3 separate regions of the Homo sapiens genome follow, and regions 1 and 2 are each linked to region 3. The links are contacts of gene promoters, found by promoter capture Hi-C in human tissues and cell types (Jung and others, 2019). All regions are on one chromosome and are shown on one strand. The core of a region is centred on a gene start or on the middle of the fragment in contact, and the rest is flanking DNA. Distances in the headings are between cores, read along the strand shown.

Evidence for each region. The method cuts DNA at HindIII sites, captures the fragments that hold promoters and counts their contacts. A contact is called where the count stands out against the background at its distance.
Region 1: a contact is called between a fragment that was not itself captured here and the fragment with the promoter of SCARF2 in region 3, in 4 of the 25 tissues and cell types used here (IMR-90 fibroblasts, dorsolateral prefrontal cortex, lymphoblastoid cells and 1 more).
Region 2: a contact is called between a fragment that was not itself captured here and the fragment with the promoter of SCARF2 in region 3, in 6 of the 25 tissues and cell types used here (IMR-90 fibroblasts, dorsolateral prefrontal cortex, liver and 3 more).

What each region holds. Positions count from the first base shown.
Region 1 is chr22:20,468,773-20,473,093 of GRCh38, reverse strand. KLHL22 (kelch like family member 22) reads left to right here. Exons shown (of 7, transcript NM_032775.4): 3 at 1,579-1,744. The region is part of intron 1 of LOC124905085 (a long non-coding RNA gene); the gene reads right to left. Among named protein-coding and RNA genes, the nearest start is that of KLHL22, 25 kb to the left of the region's middle. The HindIII fragment of the contact is 6,492 bases long and covers 1-4,321 here.
Region 2 is chr22:20,486,839-20,491,081 of GRCh38, reverse strand. It overlaps KLHL22 (kelch like family member 22), which reads left to right. Exons shown (of 7, transcript NM_032775.4): 2 at 1,838-2,097. The coding sequence starts at 1,871. Among named protein-coding and RNA genes, the nearest start is that of KLHL22, 6.8 kb to the left of the region's middle. The HindIII fragment of the contact is 7,515 bases long and covers 1-4,243 here.
Region 3 is chr22:20,436,058-20,439,974 of GRCh38, reverse strand. SCARF2 (scavenger receptor class F member 2) reads left to right here and starts at 2,150. Exons shown (of 11, transcript NM_182895.5): 1 at 2,150-2,393. The coding sequence starts at 2,221. It overlaps LOC107985588 (a long non-coding RNA gene), which reads right to left and starts at 1,979. Exons shown (of 2, transcript XR_001755623.2): 1 at 1,464-1,979. The HindIII fragment of the contact is 17,878 bases long and covers 1-3,917 here.

The DNA of each region.
Region 1 (4,321 bases), core at 1,239-3,738, 33 kb before region 3:
ATTCCTCAAGAGCATCCCATAATGCTCAGATTTCAATCTGGACTGTACCTACCCTAGAGGTAGGGGGACCTGGCTCCAAGGCCTGCCTGCCCATCCCACTTTCTGCTCACTTCGTCATCATCTTGGCTGCCTTGCATGCCAAGCTCTGCCTTGCCCCAGAACTTGTACACCTGTCTCCTTCACCTGGAACTCCCTCCCCGGCTGCCTACACCCTCTCAGCCTTATCCTTAGGTCTCAGTTCCTCAGATGGGGCTTTCCCTGCTCCTTCTCATCATTCCACCTACCCCTCTTCTAACCAGTGACTCTCAGGTCAGATGCCCTGCTGGGTTCCTTCTTAGCATTTATTTATATATGTATATATGTTTTTTGAGACAGAGTCTTGCTGTGTCACCCAGGCTGGATCGCAGTGGTGTGATCTCGGCTCACTGCAACCTCCGCCTCCCGGGTTCAAGCGATTCTCCTGCCTCAGCCTCCTGAGTAGCTGGGATGATAGGCGCCCGCCACCACACCCAGCTAATTTTTGTATTTTTAGTAGAGACGGGGTTTCACCATGTTGGCCAGGCTGGTCTTGAACTCCTGACCTCAGGTGATCTGCCCGCCTTGCCCTCCCAAAGTGCTGAGATTATAGGCGTGAGCCACCACGCCCGGCCAATTTTTGTAATTTTTGTAGAGACAGGATTTCACCGTGTTGCCTAGGCTGGTCTTGAACTCCTAGGCTCAAGGGATCTGCCTGCCTTGGCCTCCCAGAGGGTTGGGATTAGAGGCGTGAGCCACCGCGCCCAGCTATTTTACCAGTTTACTTCACTATAACTCCTTTTGCTCTTTGTTTTTTGTTTTGTTTTGCTTTTTGAGACAGTCTTGCTTTGTTGCCCAGGCTGGAGTGCAGTGGTGCAATCTTGGCTCATGGCACCCTCCGTCTCCCAGGTTCAATCAATTCTTGTGCCGCAGCCACCAAAGTAGCTGGGACTACAGATGCACAACATCATGCCCGGCTAATATTTGTATTTTTAGTAGAGACGCGGTTTCACCATGTGGGCCAGGCTGGTCTCGAATTCCTGACCTGAAGTGATTTGCCTGCCTTGGCCTCCCAAAGTGCTGGGATTACAGGTGTGAGTCACCGTGCCTGGCCTCCTTCTGCTCTTTGAATGATACTTGGCATTTGGTAGGAACTCCATAAATATACATTGAATGAAATGACTTTTATTAGTTTCCCATTAATTAATTCATTGCTTTGAAATGTGCTCTGGAGTTGCTACTGCTCCGATCCAGGAACTGCACTGATGAACACAGCAGAAGCAAGCTGCTTGTGGCCTCACCTCCCGAAGCTCACATGGGACTCCTTGGGCCCATGAAAAGGGAAACAGGACAATTTCCAGGATGGCTGCCCAGACTTCGTCAGGATCCTTTTGTGGGATGGCTCATGCATGCACACAGTTCACTCAGAGCACAGAGTGGGTCAGCCCACTACCAGGGCCCTGCCACCAGCGCCAGGTTCTTCTCTGAATGCTGTCACTCTTGGCAACATGGGCTTAAGTCCCTGTTGGTATAACTCCATTTTCTTGTGTCTTCACTTTGCAGAGGAATGTTTGCTGGGGGATTGAAGGAGATGGAACAGGAAGAGGTCCTGATCCACGGTGTGTCCTACAATGCTATGTGCCAAATCCTACATTTCATATACACCTCCGAGCTGGAGCTCAGCCTGAGCAATGTACAAGAGACACTGGTGGCTGCCTGCCAGCTTCAGGTGAGGCATGTCTCATCTAGCAAGGCAGACCCACACCCAGGTGGGGTTCCCTGAGATGCCCATGATGCCTGCCGGGCACTAGCATTGGCTTGAAGATGGGTCAGGAATGTGAGGAGACCAAGCAGTGACGAAGGCCATGAAGTGGGGAAGACTCTGGAGTTGTTCCTGGAGCTCAAGCAGAGCCGCTCTAGACACCCCAGGCCTCTGCCTTTGCCCTCTTCTCTATTGCTGGTTGTTTCCCCACTGTCTGAGTCTCCCTGTCATTGAAAGCATCCTGCACATAAGCAGGTAGGCTGACCCGAGGCTGCATGTGGACGTCCTGTGTGCTCTGGGGTCTGGCAATGGGGAGCATCCACCAGCATTGCTGCCAGGGCCCTTCCTGCCTGTCCCCTCACTGGGCCACTTCAGTCTCTTGAAAACTTATGTGTTTTGTTACTGAACTTTATCTATCTATTTGTCTGTCCATCCATCCATCCATCCATGCATGCACGCATCCATCCATCCATCCATGCATGCATGCATCCATCCATCCATCCATCCATCCATCCATCCATCCATCCATCTATCCATCCATCCATGCATGCATCCATCCATGGTGGCAGGCATCCATCCATCCATCCATCCATCCATGCATGCATCCATCCATCCATCCATCCATCCATCCATCCACCCATCCATCCATCCACTCATTCAATTTATTGGAGACAAGCTCTCTCTCTCTTGCCCAGGCTGGAGTGCAGTGGCACGATCACAGCTCACTGCAGCCTCAACCTCCTGGGCTCCAGCAATCCTTCTGCCTCAGCCTCCCAAATAGCTAGGACCTATAGGCATGTGCCACTACACCTGGCTAATTTTTAAATTATTTTTATAGAGATAGAGGCTTGCTTTGTTGCTTAGGCTAGTCTTGAACCCCTGGCCTCAAGTGATCCACCTCAGCCTTCCAAAGTGTTGCGATTACAGGTGTGAGCCACTGCGCCTGGCCTATTTTTTTTTTTTTTTTAAAGACAGGGTCTCACTCTGTTACCCAGGCTGTAATGCAATGGCATGATCATAGTTCACTGTAGCCTCCACCTCCTAGGCTCAAGTGGTCCTCCCGCCTCAGCCTTCTGAGTAGCTGGGACTAAAGATGCGTGCCATTGTGCCTAGCTGATATTATATATATATATATTTTTTTATAGGAATGGGGCCTTGTTATGTTGCCCAGGCTGGTCTCAAGCTCCTGGCCTCAGGTGATACTCCCACCTTGGCTTCCCAAAGTTCTGGGATTACAGGTGTGAGCCTCTGTACCCAACCTGTTATTGAACTTTAAGTACTTGTTTTCCTGCAGAATTCAAAAAGTTTTCTGAGGCTTTGACAGTGTGACTTATGTTTTGGATGATTATTCTCAGTGGTGTGGGTGCAGTTACACGGGACTGGGCCTGCAGGTGCCTTTGAGCTATCAGGCAGAGGCCTGATAGGAGTTGACAGTCACCTCTTCCCACATTTCTTAAAAGTGAAACAAAATGCTATGCTAAGTTCATCATTCTGACCTTTCTTCCCATGAGAGCAGGTTTGACGCAATTAAAAAAAAACAACTCAAGTCACAGGAAAACCAACCTGTTCGGGGGCATGTGGAGGTGCCACCCCATGTGACAGGGCCCTGGCAGCCTCCCTGTGCCCTGTTCTCAGATTGGTGGATAGGACCTGGATGCTGGGTGGGTTGATCTGAGATGACTGACTTGTCTCACCATACCTGCATGGTGAGTAGATGGAGTTGGCTTTTACAACAAAAGAATTTCCCCCTGTTCTTTTATTTAGAGATCTCTTCTGTCCCCACATCCCTGTCATTGTTGCTTTGGGAACCCTCATCCAATTCTCCACCCTGGCAGCAGTTAACTCCTGATTCAGCTGCCTCTGAAACATCTCCCCCAGCATGGCTCAGGTCCAGCTGTCCTATCTCCTCCTCCACACCTGCCACTCTCCCGGAGCTCCCCTGTCAGTCCCCCTGCTCTGTGTGTCCTGTGACCATCCTGCCAGTTCCCTGGGCTCAACCTCAGTGGCTCCTTGAGCCCGTCCACCTTCTTAATTCCCTGCGTCCATGTGAGGACAGGTCATCCTTCTCGGTATTGCTTGTAGCCATCTCTGTTCTGTGTTTCCATTTCCTTCCCTTTTGCCTGGCCTCCATCTGTATGTTTCTGCCATTTCTTTCTTCTCCCTGCAGTGATCACACACACTGAAACCAGATCATCTTTCTAACATCACTTTCCCTCTCTCACCAGTCAGCTTGGAGGCCTGCAGTCTCTCTCTGTTGGTTTGGCCAGTGCTCCCGACAGCCCTGGGTCATCTCCCCCAGTGCCTCAGAGGTCATCTCAGAGGCAGCAGCCTATCTTAGTTTTTTAACATATCAGGCTTCTGGGCCAGGCTTGGAGGTTCATGCCTGTAATCCCAGCACTTTTGGAGGCCAAGGTGAGAGGATTGCTTGAGGCCAGGAGTTTGAGATCAGCCTGGGCAACAAAGCGAGACCTCTACAGAAGCACTTTAAAAATAGCCGGGCATGGTGGCATGCACCTGTAGTTCCAGCTACTCGGGAGGCTGAGG
Region 2 (4,243 bases), core at 570-3,069, 51 kb before region 3:
GAGTTCTGTGAGTCGCTCTAACAAATTAGTTGAACCCAAGAAGGGGATCTTGGGAACCCAATTTATAGCCTATTGGTCAGAAGCACAGGTGAAACAACCTGGGAGACTCAGCCCTCAACCTGTGGGATCAGACACTGTCTCCAGGTAGTGTTAGAGTTGAATTAGAGCAGGGGTCCGCAACCCCCAGGCCTCAGACCTGTATCAGTCTGTGGCTGGTTAGGAACCAGGTGGCACAACAGGAGGTGAGTGGAGGGTGATCCAGCATTACCACCTGAGCTCCACCTCCTGTCAGATCAGAGGTGGCATCAGATTCTCATAGGAGCACAAACCCTGTTGTGAACCATGCATGTGAGGGGTCCAGATTGTGTGCTCCGAAAGAGAATCTAGCTAATGCCTGATAATCTGAGGTGGAACAGTTTGATCCCGAAACCATTCCCCGACCCCGTGGAAAAATTGTCTTCCAAGAAAGTGGTCCCTAGTGCCAAAAAGATTGGGGACTGCTGAATTAGAAGACACCCAGCTGGTATCTGTGGCAGAATTGATTGCTTGCTTGTTAATGGGGAAAAACCCTCACACATTTGGTCACAGAAGTCTCCTGTGTTTGTTGTTGTGGTATAAGAGGAGAGGAAAAACAGTGTGTTTTTTTCATTCAGAACTACAGTAACATGCTGTACAAGTATGTAGCTTAGGAGCAATTGGCTGTACCTTATGGCCTAGATGTGTAGTAGTCTCTACCACCTAGGTTTGTGTAGGTGTACCCTTTGATGTTCACACACTGAGGAAATTGCCTCCAGCGATATAAGTCTCAGAATGTATCCCCAACATTAAGTGATGCATGACTGGAGGTAATTGGAGAATAAACATATTTTGGGGAGAGGAAAGTAGGATGAAGTGAGGTGGAGAAGACAGATGTTCACATCTTGTAGCTGACTGTGCTGTGCCTACAGAGCCTGCAGCTTGGCCATGCCTCACAGTGTGGGACTGGCCACTCCCTGACCTGAACAGCTGGCTATCCACAGTCACTTTTGGTTGCTCCATGGCAAAAGTGCATTTGCAGTAGGTTCATTTTACTGATTAGGTTTTAGAGGCTCCAATTCAAATCAGTTTGCGGTTTTTGAACGTACTGACTCAATTATTAGAAGATAATCTTTAATTTAAAAGGCAATGCAGATGAATTTAAATGCATCAGGTTCAATCACAGTTACTGTGCTTGACTCTCAGAATTTCAGTAAAGGAAAGTAGGCCCTGGAAATGCCACCCCCTTGGCACCCACCTCCCAGACTCCTGGCTGTGTGTCTCCTGACCACTACTCAGGTCTTGCCATTTTTATGCATCCATTACTATGAGGAAGAACCCAATTTTGTTCATTCAATGGGAGGGAGGAAGAGCTCTTGAGAACCTGGTGTGTGCTTATGCTTCATGTTCATTGTTTTACCAATTTTAGAATACCCCAATGGGGTAGGTACTTTTATCTCTCTTTTTAAAATTGGGGAGCTCGAGGCTCAGTTTGGTCATGTTGTAAGTCCCTGTGGAGTTGGGCTCCAACCCAGGTCAGTCTGTTTCCCAAAACCCTTCTGTTTGACTTTGCCGCTGAAGAAGATACAATGAGATGAAGAGTCTTGGGCATGATGGCACACAGGTCATCAGGAAGAAGGCCATCAGGAAGTTGGACTAGAGGTGGGAGGGGAGAAGGAATTAGGGGATTTGGAAATAGAGGGAAAACAGGTGAGCCTGAGGGAGGCACAGGAGCAAGGGGAGCAACAGAGCTGGCCAGTCTGTGTGTGGTGGGGCTGATGCCTGCCTGCTCACCCCTGTCCCCTGTTTTGCCAACTGTCAGGCCACAGTTGTAAGGGATCTTGTGGCTGTCAGGATGGCAGAGGAGCAGGAGTTCACCCAGCTCTGCAAGTTGCCTGCACAGCCCTCACACCCACACTGCGTGAACAACACCTACCGCAGCGCACAGCACTCCCAGGCTCTGCTCCGAGGGCTGCTGGCTCTCCGGGACAGCGGAATCCTCTTCGATGTTGTGCTGGTGGTGGAGGGCAGACACATCGAGGCCCATCGCATCCTGCTGGCTGCGTCCTGCGATTACTTCAGGTGAGTTCACTAGAGCTGTTTGTAAGAAGAATAACAAAGGTAATCCTGGCTCTGCTAGTAAAGGTACTGGCGGTGACAGTGGCTGGTCTCCTGCTCACCTCAGAGCCTCCCCTACTCCTTGTGGCTATGACTTAGTCAACAAGTGTGAGAGACAGAAGGGGGTCTTAGAGTTCATTTTTCATTCAGTGATCCTGTTTCTTGGGCTTTGCCTCCTCTTCTCTTCCCTCTCTTCTCTTCCTTTTCTTTTCCTTTTCTCTCTCTTTTCTTTTCTCTTTTCTTTCCTCCTTTCTCTCCTCCCCTCCCTTACCATTCCTCCCCTCCGTCAGTAATTATTGCTGTGTATGCATCACCTTCTGGCTCACACCTCTCATCCCTCAGGTGTTAGCCTCTGGCCCTCCCAGTGAGCTCTGTGGCCCCTCTGGGGTTTCTTATGGCCTCCTTCGTGACCCCATCCCAGCACTTGGCACAGTGTGAGGAACCACTGGCTTATCTGTCTTTTCCACTGGGTTGGAATCTGTCTCTTATCCCTAGCACCTGACATGGTTTTCACATATTCAAACAATACCCATGGCTTAAATGAATAAATTTATGTACACAGATAGCAGATCAATACACCATTTGCCCTGTTGTCTGCACTGCTCTGCACTCAAGGAGGTGGGTGTCACCACCCTTATTTCACATAGGTGGCATGAGCCTGAGAAGGACTGAGGGCCACTCGTGGTCCCCAGCAAGGTTGTCATGGGACTCCAAGCCTGAGGTGTTCCATTCTAGCTCTGATTCTGTTCAATCATTTTGTCTTCAAGGCTTAGTTGTAGTTCTCTCTCTCTCTCTTTCTCTTTATCTCTCTCTATTTTTTTAATTAGGAACTATCAAGCAAAATATGTATGGTTTAAGTGCCTTCTGTCTCCAAAAGGAGTTTTGGAGAATGTGACCCAGTGGTGGCTTGGTGCAGATGTGTCCAGGAGCAGCAGAATTCTTTCAGTTCACCAGGGAAATTCAGCTGAGGCCTTTAATAAGCATTAAGATAACATACAGGACAGTGGGTAGGGTAGAGGAGCTGAGGGCCCCCTGCAGGGGACTTAGGACCTGTATAGGAGAGGATGGCCAGAGGCTGTGGAGCCTATGGGATCCCCTGGGCTCACCCTCTCAGCCCTTCTTGATTTAGTGTCATACCACTCTTTCTGAAGATGACAGTGTAGGCAGCCTTTCGCTAATCTGTCAAAAACCTTATGTGGCTTTCCACGTCCTCCAGGAGCAATTTCTAGCCCTTTCCACAGCCCCCCTTGGGTAAACCTCTTATGAGAGGTGTCCTGCTCTCCGGGATGATTACAATGCATCACTAACACCCCCTGCATCCCTCCACTTCCATTGGGAAGGGGAGCGGGAGAGTGGCAACATTATTGGAAGAGCCCAGAGTCATTTCACAGGGGGGTGTGTGTGTGTATGTATAAATAAGAAATAGAGGCCAGTCACGGTGGCTCACACCTGTAATCCCAGCACTTTGGGAGGCCAAGGCAGGTGGATCACTTGAGGCCAGGAGTTTGAGACTAGCCTGGCCAACATGGTGAAACCCTGTCTCTACTAAAAAAAAAAAAAAAAATTAGCTGGGTGTAGTGGTGGGCGCCTGTAATCCCAGCTACTTGGGAGGCTGAGGCAGGAGAGTTGCTTGAACACAGGATGCGGAGGTTGCAGTGAGCCGAGATTGTGCCACTGCATTCCAGCCTGGGTGACAGAGCAAGACCCTGTTTCAAAAAAACAAAAAAGAGGCTGGATGTAGTGGCTCACGCCTGTAATCCTAGAACTTTGGGAGGCCGAGGCGGGTGGATCACCTGAGATTAGTAGTTCGAGACCAGCCTGGCCAACATAGTGAAACTCCGTCTCTGCTAAAAATACAAAAACTAGCGGGGCGTGGTGGCACATGCCTGTAATCCCAGTTACTTGGGAGGCTGAGGCAGGAGAATCACTTGAACCCAGGAGGCGGAGGTTGCAGTGAGCCTAGAAAGAGGCCAGGCTTGGTGGCTCACTCCTATAATTCCAGCACTTCGGGAGGCCAAGGAGGGCGGATAACTTGAGGTCAGGAGTTGGAGACCAGCCTGACCCACATGGCAATACCCTGTCTCTACTAAAAATACAAAATTAGCTGGGC
Region 3 (3,917 bases), core at 901-3,400:
CCAACTTGTGCTCTCCAGTGTGGCTAGGCTCTTGGTCCCTGCTTTCATGCAAAACCCTCCTCAGCCTTCAAAGTCCACTTCCTTCTGGCAGCCATCCTGGCCAAAACCAGCAGGCCAGGGCTCCGGGCTCCAGCAGTTTGCCTGCGTGGTGGTCAATTGTCTGTGGGTTCCTTCTACATCCTAGTGCCATGTGGATGATCCTTCATTCCTCCCATACTTCTCAGTCTTCCCCTAGGGGTGCAGTGGTGGTTGGGAGAAATGAGGGCTCTGCCCATGACACCCAAAGTTGCCATCTACTGCAAGGGATGTATGTACCGGGTCGTGAGGTGAGACTGGGGATGGTCCTCATCCTGAGAGCAGTGGTGGATAGCCACATGTGAGATTAAAAAGACTACTCTGGGTGGCAGACAGGGGTGGGCAGAGATCTAAGACATTTAGGAGGTCCTGGGGGATTGGGGGGCACCATCCAGGTGGTGCCCTCCCTGGACAGGTCTGGGGGAAGGAGAAAGGTGATGGAATTTGATATGCCTATTCATGACCTCCATCCAGCTGAGGTGAGTGTCCCCTCCAGCCCAGGGGGTCAGTGCCTCTAAAGCCAGGAGCTGGGCTGGGACAGACCTTGCAGCCACTGGGACCTCTGCTGGCCTCTATTGGGAGCCGCAATCCGGATCCTCCGTGGGAGGGGCCCCAGCACTGGGAGGGCATTGCTGAGGTCAGGGCTGTGCCCAGGCTGAGCTGCCCAGAAGTGGTTGGCCTGTTTATTTGTCCCCAGGTAGTTGCATTCGTGTCCACACTAGTTCCACTTCTCTTTCAGCCCACCCCACCTCCCTCCTGCACCAGCATGGCTGAGTGAGGGGCCTGCTCCTCCCCATCCCACTCTCTGCCTGTGCCAGCCTGGTGATGCCCATGGCCTTGGGCCTTTCAGTGGCTCCTCCTCCAAGCCCCCTCCTCCAGCCCCACCCTTCGGGGCTATCTGGCCACACCTGGACAGAGTCTGCCTGCCCTCCCTCAGTGAGCCTGTGGGCCGCATGTGGCCTGCTCCCCAAAGAACGGAGGTGCCCGCTCCCTGCTTAGGCCTTCTGCCAGCTCTCAAGTCCCCAAAAGACAAACATCCTCACTAGGACCTGGCTACACACGGGACATTTGTGCTCCCTGCCCAACTTCCAGAGTCGGTCTGCCCCAGTTGCCCCCCGGGGACCCGCACCCTGCTGCCTCCCAGTCCAAGTCCAGCTTCCCCGCTGGCTCCCTAGGGCCTGTCCCTCTGTCTTGCTCCCTTCCCACACCTTCCTTCTGCTCTGTGCTGTTACCCACCTTACCTGATGCAGGAGTTCCCACTCTCTAGCCCCAGCCTCTCCTGGAAATCCGACAGCCAGCAGAATCCACCGCCCAGGCTCCCCCAGCCCCCTTCACTCCTCAACTAGGACTGCAGGGTTTCCATCCCGGGGGTCTCCTTCTGTCTTTACCTCTACTTCCTACCGCAGTCCACAGCCTGGCCATTCTACTTCCTCTGTATCTCTCCCATCCGTCCCTACGGAGACCCCTTCCCCCAGGCCTCTGGTCCGGACCGAGTCTACCACAGGCCTCAAGCATCCTGCTCGGTCCGCCCCTTGCGAGCTCTGAGTGCGCAGGAGTGCGCAGGGGGAGCTGACCGCACACCCCAGCACTACAAGGACTTCGCGGTGGGGTGCTGTGGAGTTGGCTTTCGGCCTCGACCTGGGCTGTCTGCGGGCCCCACTCCCTTGGCCGGTTCCGAGGCGCTGGGAGCGGGGGTGGGCTTGCGGAGTCGCGTCCGTGTCCCCGATCCGCCTTCCCGTCCCGGGCCTGGCCTACGCAGTGGGCGCGCAGGGGCGGCTGCTTCGGTAGATGTCTAGGGAGCGGAGGGAAAGGCGCGGGAACCGGGGATTCCTCGGGCGGACCCTCCCTCCACCAGCGCTCGGCGGGCCTCCTCCAAGTTCGCCCCCAAGTTTGCGAGCGGCCAAATGGGGGCGGGGGCTGCGCGGAGGGGCGGTGGCTAGGCCGGAGGGTGGGGTCTGGAGCGCGGGGCGGGCGCTGCCGCCTGGCCGGCCGCGGCTGGCCCGGGATCAGGGAGCCGATGTGGAATTTCCTGCCCGGCTCGGCGCCCCTCCTGCCGCCCCCCGCCCGGCCTCGCACTCCGCTTCCGGCCGCTCTCGCTGCGGCCGCACCCGCGCCCGTGCCCGCCCCGCGCCTGCCCCGCGCCTCATGGAGGGCGCAGGGCCCCGGGGGGCCGGGCCGGCGCGGCGCCGGGGAGCCGGGGGGCCGCCGTCACCGCTGCTGCCGTCGCTGCTGCTGCTGCTGCTGCTCTGGATGCTGCCGGACACCGTGGCGCCTCAGGAACTGAACCCTCGCGGCCGCAACGTGTGCCGTGCTCCCGGGTAGGAGCCGGCCTGGCTGGGGGAGGGGGCGAGAGGGACGCTCTGGGCAGTGGTGTGGCGGCGCCGGGCATTGGGAGGGGGCTACCGGAACCTTCCTACGCCAAGTGTGGGCCCCTTCGGCTCCCTAGCCAGCGCGGCTCCGTTCCAGGCCCAGCCTCGGCCATGGGCCACGACAGTGCATCCCAGGGAACCCTGGACGAGAAGTCACCTGAGGGGAGGATGGAGTGCCGTGGGCACCCAGGGGATGACACGCGTTGTCCGGGATATCAGGAAAGACCTGGAAAAAGGGACCCTTGACCGAGTTGTGAAGTCCACGGGGAAAAGCTGGGGAAGGGCATTCAAGCCAAAGGAACTGCATGTGCTAAAGCCCCGCACTAGTCCGACTGGAGCCGGGAGTGGGAGTGAGGAGGAAGGTCAGGGGAGGAGGAGCGGTGCTAGCCGGGGAGGTCCTGGAGCAAGCCAGACTTGGAAAGACAGATTCGCGTCTTAGAGCGGGCGCGGGTGGGAGGGTGGTGACCCAGGCGAGCGTCGAGGAGCCGGCGCTCGAAGTGGACCAGAAGCGGGAGGCGGAAGGACTATGACAGGCACAGGGGACCGGAGGATGTGGGAACCCTGGCGACAACCAGGTGGGGATTCTGGGTGCAAGAAGGGGCCGCGCAAATGTGGGGCGCCGGCTGGGGAAGCCAGTGTGGGACAGGCAGGCGACAGGCCCGGCCGGTGGGGGGGCGAGTCCGGGAGTTTGCACGGAGGGCAGAGAGGTGAGCCCCGGACGCCAGGAGTTAGGAGCTGGGGTCGGGGGAGCCGGTGGGCTGGCCAAAGGCCACAAGGTCAAGGGCATCTCCACGCAGGGGTGAGGAGCGGGCGTGTGGGGGCGCCTTGGCGCGGATTGGAGACGCCGCACGGGCTGGCAGCCGCAGAGGCGGCCGCCGGGCTCCGAGCTGGGTCGCGTCGGGGCGCCTGAGCCACGGACCCGGGGCAAGCCGAGTCCAGGGGCTCGGCGCCAGAGACAAGGGGCTGCGAGGGGGCAGCGCGGGGTTTCCGAACTCTGGTCCGGAGGCGCGCAGACCCCTCCCCGCTGCGAGCCCCGCCTCCGGGGCGGGGGCCGGCCTGGCCCGCCATCTGCTTCGCATCGATGCCGCCGCCGCGGACTCCCGGGCCTCCCCGGCCCCAGGAATGCAGCGGCGGCGGCGGGCGGGGCGGTGCCTGGAGAGGGGGAGGGCGCGATCGCCGTGGTCTCTGTCTACTCACTCCAGCCCTCTTTCCCAGACAGGCCCGGGACCAGGAATGGGGGTCCGGTGCCAGGCTCTAGCTGTCCGGAGCCTGAGAGCCCTTTGCTCCCGCTCCCCTGGTCTGCAGACCTCCCAGGAGGCGCCTGCTCCAGGAACCGAGCCTGGGTTTGGGTTCCCATCCTGGTGCCACCCTACCCAGCTGTGTGGACCTGGGCAAGTCATTTGACCTCTCTGGGCCTGTCTCCACCTCTGTAAAATGGGATAGTGATCACAACCCCCTCATGGGGCTAAGTGG